Linked DNA regions of Homo sapiens: regions 1 and 2 are each linked to region 3. The links are contacts of gene promoters, found by promoter capture Hi-C in human tissues and cell types (Jung and others, 2019). All regions are on one chromosome and are shown on one strand. The core of a region is centred on a gene start or on the middle of the fragment in contact, and the rest is flanking DNA. Distances in the headings are between cores, read along the strand shown.

What was found. The method cuts DNA at HindIII sites, captures the fragments that hold promoters and counts their contacts. A contact is called where the count stands out against the background at its distance.
Region 1: a fragment that was not itself captured here is called in contact with the fragment with the promoter of CHRNA1 in region 3 in 1 of the 25 tissues and cell types used here (IMR-90 fibroblasts).
Region 2: a fragment that was not itself captured here is called in contact with the fragment with the promoter of CHRNA1 in region 3 in 5 of the 25 tissues and cell types used here (adrenal gland, bladder, hippocampus and 2 more).

The regions. Positions count from the first base shown.
Region 1 is chr2:174,806,219-174,809,163 of GRCh38, reverse strand. It overlaps CHN1 (chimerin 1), which reads left to right. Exons shown (of 13, transcript NM_001822.7): 11 at 122-259. Among named protein-coding and RNA genes, the nearest start is that of CHRNA1, 43 kb to the right of the region's middle. The HindIII fragment of the contact is 4,550 bases long and covers 1-2,945 here.
Region 2 is chr2:174,728,302-174,731,080 of GRCh38, reverse strand. No RefSeq gene overlaps it. Among named protein-coding and RNA genes, the nearest start is that of CHRNA1, 35 kb to the left of the region's middle. RefSeq lists a silencer at 626-920 and an enhancer at 519-1,258. The HindIII fragment of the contact is 6,702 bases long and covers 1-2,779 here.
Region 3 is chr2:174,763,029-174,766,011 of GRCh38, reverse strand. It overlaps CHRNA1 (cholinergic receptor nicotinic alpha 1 subunit), which reads left to right and starts at 1,540. Exons shown (of 9, transcript NM_000079.4): 1 at 1,540-1,660. The coding sequence starts at 1,618. RefSeq lists an enhancer at 1,040-1,539. The HindIII fragment of the contact is 8,948 bases long and covers 1-2,983 here.

The DNA of each region.
Region 1 (2,945 bases), core at 311-2,810, 43 kb before region 3:
TACGTTAAAAACTGAAGAATTGCTAATCTTTAAAATCTGATTTGTATACAGATATGTCATTCATTAAAACAGTGCTGTGAATCCAGATATTTACTTTTATTTCTTTCAACATCCTTAAAAGATGGTGAGAAGGCAGATATTTCTGTGAACATGTATGAAGATATCAACATTATCACTGGTGCACTTAAACTGTACTTCAGGGATTTGCCAATTCCACTCATTACATATGATGCCTACCCTAAGTTTATAGAATCTGCCAGTAAGTATGAATGCATGTATTTCAAATAACCTGACAACGTCCTCTTGGTAATCACCTTCCTGGTTTTCTGGCTAACTTGAATGCATTTTATGAAATGTTTCCCCTTTGCCTCTCTCTATGGTTAATGTACTTACAAGAATTTTGCATTGTTCTCTAACGTAGATTATTTTATGACTTAATACCATCAGAAGCTTCTTTGTAATGTGCTAAACCTCATTTTCCAAAATAAGGCTTATACCAGTGCTCTTTAGATGTAAGCCAATGCTTTTGTAAAATAAAATAAAAATGAATAACTGGAAAAGTAAATTAAAAAAACAAAACCAGGCTGGCAGTGGCTCACGCCTGTAATCCCAGCACTTTGGGAGGCTGAGGTGGGCAGATCACCTGAAGTCAGGAGTGCAAGACCAGCCTGGCCAACATGGTGAAACCCCATCTCTACTAAAAATACAAAAAATTAGCTGGGCGTGGTGGCACGCGCCTGTAGTCCCAGCTACTCAGGAGGCTGAGGCAGGAGAATTGCTTGAACCCGGGAGGCAGAGGTTGCAGTGAGCTGAGATTGTGCCATTGCATTCCAGCCTGGGCAACAAGAGCAAAACTACGTCTCAAGAAATAAAACAAAAACAAACAAAAAACCAACTATCTTTTATTAAATTCAGCAAACATAAAATTTCTATCAGATTACTATATGTTTCTAAATTCTTATTCTCAGTTTCTGTGCTTGTATAAGTTCACTCAGACTATTAACAGCAAACTGGCACTGGCCCACACATTGTACTTTAAAAAGCACTATTTTATATCAAGAAGTTTTTGTAAATTCTAGTTGAAATGAAAATGAGAAAAAGCAAAGGTTTATTTGTCAAAGTTCATTTATGCTGTAAAAATCATACTTGTAATTCACACTTCATTTTTTAAAGAAGGGAATTCTTATTGGTTTTAAGTATTAGCATTACTGGTTTTTTTGGAAAAGATAGGCTATTTCTGTCATTTTGCTTTTCTCTCTTTAAAACCATATGTTGTCTTCATCTTTAGATGATAACATCACTTCCTTAGTAACACTAATTTGCTTTTTGACTTGGGAATTTCATGAAGTACAATCTTTCTTTGTTCTAAATTTTAGTTTCCCTCTCAGGGCTTTTGTAGAGGATTTTTGTGGTTAGTTCCATGGAGGTCTGATTTCTTGTGGGTCAGCTCAAGCTCCCATGTAGAGAACAGCTGTGAGAATTACACTGATTTCTTTCAAAGCATTAGGTTAGAAAGCATGAAAAATTCTAGGTCTCTTATGGACGCAGTGCTGATCATGAAAATTTGTATGAGGGATCTCACATGTCCTTGTCTCATGGGGCAGACATTTCCTCTCCAGTTAAGTCTGATTGCCACTCATCTAGAAAGCAACACACACACACACACACACACACACACACACACACACACACACACACACACACACACACACACACAGATAGCCCGTGAAAAGCTGCCTAGTCCACAGTATGCTCTGATCCCGAGGACTCCGATCCCACTGAAAGTGGGTAAGCTTCCACTCTGGAAGTAAAACTGAAGCTTGGCTCTATGCCTAACTCTGGGGCACACAATCAGCAGAGGACAAAGCAGTGATGCAAACCCAGGTTCTGAACTCCACACACCGCCATATCTAGGAAGAAGTAAAAGCCAAGCCTCCTCTTGGACTTCGAGGCCTTTGTCCCCACAATTCCAAATGACCTCTCCTTCCTTCCCCACACCCACCTTAGCTGCTGAAGAAAATCTCTCCTTTTTATTATCCTTCCAAATCATTTGTCATCGTTATGGAGTTTCTGAAACAGCCTTCCTGTCCAAAATTAGCAAGCCCCCTTATCTCACCCCTCAGAGAACTCTGGAAACCACATCATAAGAAAGAAACTTTCGGAAATCAAGGTAGAAATTTCTCCTTATAATTTCAGTTATTTGGATGTCTGATTTATGAATGACACCAAAAACCCTGGCATAATACCAATATATAATATAAACGTTTGTTGTACATGTTTAATAGCGATATCTTGTTTGTGGAATATTGTGTCCTTGTACACTCTCTTCTGGCAGTAGAGTCTGTTTCATTCTTTAGATGTGCAGATACGGCCATTCTCTTAAAAGGCAGACAAGGAAGATGAGAGAAATTAACATTTATAGAGCATAGACGAGGTGCCATGAATCCTGCCGAGCACTTTACATCCATGATGTAATTTTAGAAAGGAGATGTGATGGAGTATCAGTAAATTGTGTAAGATCACATTGCTCACTAGGGGCGGCGGCAATGGCATTCACACACACCTCTAAGGTCAGAGCCCTTGCTTTACCCACTCTGTCACACTGCCTGGCTCACTTGATAGAACAGGGAATGAGACTTACACAAGGGAAGAAGGAAGAACCCCTTTCAAACGAGGGACAGGGTTAAATGATCCTTCCTAATGCGGATATATTCTCCAAAATTTTTTTTCTCTCTCAGCTCCTAAAAATGTCTCTGGCATTTATTAGCATCCTTTGCCAACAAAATATCAGAATTTACATTAAACCTTTCTTCTACAAAAGCTGTTTGAGCTCTGCTTTTGCAGCTTTCTTGGAGGAACCTGTAGCTTAAAAGCTGGAAGGGGGTGACTGCAAGAAATGAAAAAGGAAAGCAAGGGTGGAGAAGGCCAGGTCATCCCATGCTACA
Region 2 (2,779 bases), core at 261-2,760, 35 kb after region 3:
TTTAAAGAGTGCTCTCATCCTAAGCTGTCCTATTGGGTACCTATGGGAAAATCAAATTAAACGACACAAAATAATTTAATGGCTACCCTTAGCGATTCCCTTAGCAAGATTAAAGAACACAATCAGACTTAAAACAAAAATTCAATCCACACCGCTATAAATTTTCCCTGGGTGGTGAGACTGCAAAAGGCACTTAAGTCACCAAAGCCCGGGACTTGGCAGGAGGCCCCAGCGTGGAGGCTGCAGCTCATGCTGACCAGGAAGGCCCGGAGCATCTCACGGTCATGAAAGGGCCTCCGCCCTCACGCAGGAGGTCCCCGGAGGCAGGTCTGGAACTCCGTCCAGTCCTCAGAGTGGCAGTGCACTAGCGACCCTGACTACGAGCTCCAGGAACAGGCGAAACCTGCCGCACTCAGCTCCTAGGGGCCCCAATTCTGACAAAGGGAGCCTGCAGCACTCTGTGTAGGATCCTTAAAGTCTTTGATGGGCTTAGAGCTAGAACCAACCAACCAGAGAGGAGAAAGAAAACGGATTCAAAGACAGGAAATACAATCGGCTAAAAGCAGCGTTTAATAGCCGCGTCCTGGCTAGGGAAGGGAAGGCACCAATGCGAGGCCTGCGTGGCTGAGTGGCGTCACCTTGCCCTTCCCGTGTAATGGGACCAAGGAAGAAGCACAGACCTACTGCCCGGGGCTCCCGCCCTCCACAGCCCCTCCCCTCCGGGTTTCCCAGCGCGGGAGCTATGGGGCAAGTGCACTGCCTCGCCGCTCCACACTCGCTTGAACGCGTAAGAAATCCTCGTCAGACTCAGCTCCGGGCTGGGAGGGCTTGCGGAGGCAGCGGCGCAGCAAGCTGGCCCCAGCCCGGGTGGCAGTTCGCACCCACGCACGTCCAGCCGGGGTCACCACCTGGAAGCGCTGCATCCCATCACCTGCGTCGGGTCCTTCCAGTGCCCACCGATTCCACTGCCCAGTTACGGGGAGGATTGTACGGGGGGTGGGGAGGGACACACAGCACCTCACGCACGCCGAGGGCACCAGGACCCTCTAGCAGCGACGCGCCTCAAGTCGCTGCAGAAGCTGCAGAAGGTACATCTAGCCCTGTCTGCATGGGCTCCTTCGGCGGAAGGGAACATCTCACACTCCAACCCGAGCAAATCTAGCGCTCCTGCCAACACCGCCCGCCGCAACAGCAACGAATTCATCCATCCCAGATTCGCCACCAGGGTCCGACGGTTCTGTCCCCGCGGGCCTTACCACTTGGCTTGCGGTGTTGACGCTGGACTGTCCGAAGGCTTTTGGCAAAGTTGCTTCCCAAGCATGTTTACTGTGGAAGGGTGAACAGCCACCAAAGACACCACCTGCAACACAAGTACATAGGAGGTTAAGAGCCACGTGTCTTTTCTGAATTAAGGGTAAAAGTGAGAGTTTCAGGAAGATGATGCTTATAATTAGAAACTCTTAACTTTCCCCCACTTTTACCTTTTTAGATCCATGGTTCAATTGCAAATACCTTCATTAAGCTTAATTGTCATTTTTTTTTAAAGGGAGGACAGGGGTTGCATTGGCAGGACTCACTTGTTCCTTCCCATAGGTCTGGTTCATTCCTCCCTGGGCACTTCCTGGCTGGGACTCGGGTGTCCCCGGCATATCACCGACTGCTCTGAGCCCCTCTGAGGCTGTCTACTAGGGAGAGTGCTGGTGGAACTGTGTGATCCAGAAATAACGCTCTTAAAAGTCTATGTTTTTATGATAATTACAGAATAGAATTTTAACATTGGAATTAACTTTTACTCCAACATTTCTCTATATAGTTGCAAAACTAGTTCAGAAATCTTAATGATCCACTTTTCCTTAAGAAGAATTGCATTTCTGTTTCCAGAAAGAATGCCTTGTGAAGAAGCTGCCCCCTCTTTAAATACACAGATCACAAAGCAAGTGGGAAAACAGATCTACATAGATACACAAATATTTATTCCTTCCACAAATGGAAGGATGCTGAGTGTTCTCCGTACCCGGCGCCATTCTTGGTCCTTGGGATATAACGATAAATCAAAATCAGGAAATATTTTATTTTACATAATAGATAATAAACTGAAGTAGAAATGATAAAATTTTTTAAATGGCATTAGAGGGCAGAGAGGAAATAAACAAGGAAATCTGTAAAATAGGTTGTGGCACCTTGGATAATGAGGCAGGAGGCAGGGTGGTTGGGAAAAGCCCTGGGAGGAGAACTGTGAGTGGAACCCGGATGGAGTCTAGCAGCAGGCACAGACCGGGAGGCCAGTGAAGCTGGGAAATGCCCGACACCCTTGGGTGGAGAACAAGGTAGACTGAAGAACAAGACAGATTTTCAGGTCATTACAACACCAGGAAAGGAGAAATCCCTGTTCCTGTCAAGCTTCCGAACCACTCTGATCTCTCTACACAAGACCAGCCCTGGCCGGGCGCGGTGCCTCACACCTGTAATCCTAGCACTTTGGGAGGCCAAGGCAGGTGGATAACCTGAGGTCAGGAGTTCGAGACCGGCCTGGCTAACATGGTGAAACCCTGTCTCTACTAAAAATACAAAAATTAGCCGGGTGTGGTGGCAGGCGCCTGTAATTCCAGCTACTTTCGGAGGCTGAGGCAGGAGAATCGCTTGAACCCAAGAGGTGGAGGTTGCAGTGAGCCGAGATGGCGCCATTGCATTCCAGCCTGGGTAACAAGAGCGAAACTCCATCTCAAAACACACACACGCACGCACACACACACCACCACCACCACCAACAAACCAGCCT
Region 3 (2,983 bases), core at 291-2,790:
GCTGCTGTACAAATAAACCCAAGGATTTTGATGGCTCAGCACGATGCATGTTTTGTTTTCATTGAAATAGTGCTGGGTGGTGAGCAGGTGGATAGGGGGTCCCCCTCCATGCAGTCATTCAAGGATTCAGAATGTCAAAAGCAACACCACCTTCAGAACATGGTTTCTAAGGTTAACTTTGGGACCATGTCCATTCTAGCCGGTCAGAAGACTAGAAGGGCGGGGCTGAGCTCTGGTAGGTTTGTGAGTCTGAGAACATTTTTCCACTCATGCCACTGGCCAGAGGTCAGTCCCATGGCTCCATTTAGATGGAAGGGGCTGGTCAGAGGGTGGGGGTTGTATTTCTGCCACGGGGCTATTCCATGGAAGGGAGAGAACCAAATTTTTTTTTAGCAAACAGTTAACTGATCTCCCACAGTTTAAACAAAAAATATAAATAGTATGAGCTTGCAGCTCTCTCCTCTACCCTCCAAGCCCCTTCTCTAATGATTTGTTTGGATCCACTGGAATGAGAGGATCTGTCAGGATGTTGTTGTGGGCTTGAGGTGAGAGGACCTTTCTCACCTAGTTCCATGTGGGAAGGAGGCCTGGAAGGAACAGGCAGGGTACCTTTAAGTAACTGTCTCCTTCTGGGAACTCACCTCACACCCTGCAAAGAAGCACAGCTAGGGTAACAATACTTCTCAGACTGAGAAATTACTAACTGCTGGTTTTTAGGATGTTTTTCAAGCAAGATAATTGAAAAGCTGAACCACTCTGCTCTTTGCTTCCCTGAGTGAGAGTAGGCAGAGGGACGGATGGAAGGAGGCAGGAACCCGGAACGACTGCTGATGCGGTGGGACACTTTTTCCCAATAATTACTCTTCGCTTGAATCACAGTGCATAGGACGTGGGCAATTTGCTCCAGCTAATGGTTCGTGTGGGATAGGTATTGCCTGATACAGAGGCAGGGGTTGGAACAGCCACTCTGGGGGCCAGTAAAGCCAGTTTTATGGAAGAAGCTGTCTTTGTTAAAAACCAAACCCAATCAACGTGGGGGCTTCCCAGCAGCAGACTCAACACCAGCTACACTTTTCTGAAATCCAGGCAGTCAGAAAAGCCCCCGGCACCCTCAGCCTAACACTGAAGCAGAGGAAATGAAACTGAAGCCATGTTTGCAGAATGTGGATTTTTGTGGTTTAGGACAAACAGCTGACTATCTACTCAGACCAAATGACCCTAATCAAGTCAACCCACAGAGATGAGGTTCTGGTTTACACAAAAGAGAGGCAGTTTGCTCACCATTTAAAATAATTCCTTCCTTCCTATACATTTTTTTTTCATTAAGATCTGACTACTGGTGCATTTAAAATATAATGCAGTTCATACTCAGCTTGTCAAGGGTAAGCAATTGTGTAAAGTGAGGCATATCTGTAATGGTGTACAGTCCCAGTAACTCCCTGGGCTCCAGGGCTGAGGGCAGCCCAGCTGTCGCTCCCACAAACAGGTGGTGTAAAACAATAGCTCTAGTGAGCCGACTCGCTTTCCAAACCCTCCAGCAGACAAGCACCCAGCCAGAGTGCCAGTGAGAAGCACAGGCCACCACTCTGCCCTGGTCCACACAAGCTCCGGTAGCCCATGGAGCCCTGGCCTCTCCTCCTGCTCTTTAGCCTTTGCTCAGGTAAGTGCTGGGGTCAGGGGTGGGGAGAGGGCTCTCCTTTGAGGCTAAAGTGCTGGAGGCCCCCAAATCAAAGTCTTGCTTCTTTGATGAGACCACAGAATGGCAGAGCCTCCCCAACCAGGGGCTGCTCTGTCAGTTTCTTCCTGATGTTAGCTTGATTGAGTTTTTGGATAAAGATTTTTAGTTTGCCTTATCTAATTAAAATAGAAACTGCCTGGTCAAAGACTTCAAGATAGACACGCATGTCTCTCCCTCCATCATGCCTGGCAGCCGACTCATCCCTCTGAACACTCGGCACCATTTGTAGGACCTGGACCACTTGTGGATCATGGTAGTGTCCGGGGGTTCATATTTAAACAACTATGGATACTTAGAACAGTGCCTTATAATCACATACAATGGAGTTAACAAGTCCCTTTACTGCTCCAGGAGAATTCTAATAATAAAGAGGACTGATTGACAGCTACATGTGCTGGAGATAGAAACCAGTTAATAATCATAACTAAACTCTCTCCACAGAGACAAATATTTTTTAATTTTTTCAAAATTTCTGAAGTTAAAAAAAATTCCATATGAATACATTCCTACCTACTTTTTTTTTTTAAGATGTTACTATATATAGGTTTGGGTTTGAATTGAAACTATAAAACCTTGCACAGCATTTGACCTGCATTCTACTCTGGAATGTGTCCTAACACAGCAGCTGAAACACCATCCTGAATCCCAGACTTCCGCTAGAGGGAAACAGGAGATGTTTGCTGATTGCTTCACATAAAAGTTTACTGGTGATATCATCCCAACTGAGAAACAAGGTGGCTGACATCCTGTGATTTTTCATTTCCAATATTGCTCTGAAAAACACAGGCCTTCTGGTCAAGAGGCAAAAAGCTTTATTATTAATTTTTTTCAATATCAGAGTTGAGTGAAAGAGCCTAAACTCAGATAAATTATATCATGTGGGATTTGGACTCTGTCCAGCCAAAGCTGGCCTGATGTGTGTGTGTGTGTGTGTGTGTGTGTGCGCGCGCGTGCACACACATGCGTGCACGCAAAACCACAGTCACAGGAAAATTCTTAAATGATATGCTTTAATGTAAACATCCTTAAGAGATCTCTTAGGATTTTGGTTATTGCTAACCAAAAATGCATGATTAGCTATTAAAGAAGTATGTGATATGTATTTAGGTCAAATCTCGAGTTTGCTGGCATTGATTTCCATGGGTGTTTTATAGAAATTTAGAGCTAGATCAGGCAGTCCAACATCCTCAATTTTTTATTACAAGGAAACTAAAGCTGACCTGCCCAAGGTCACTTAATTTATAC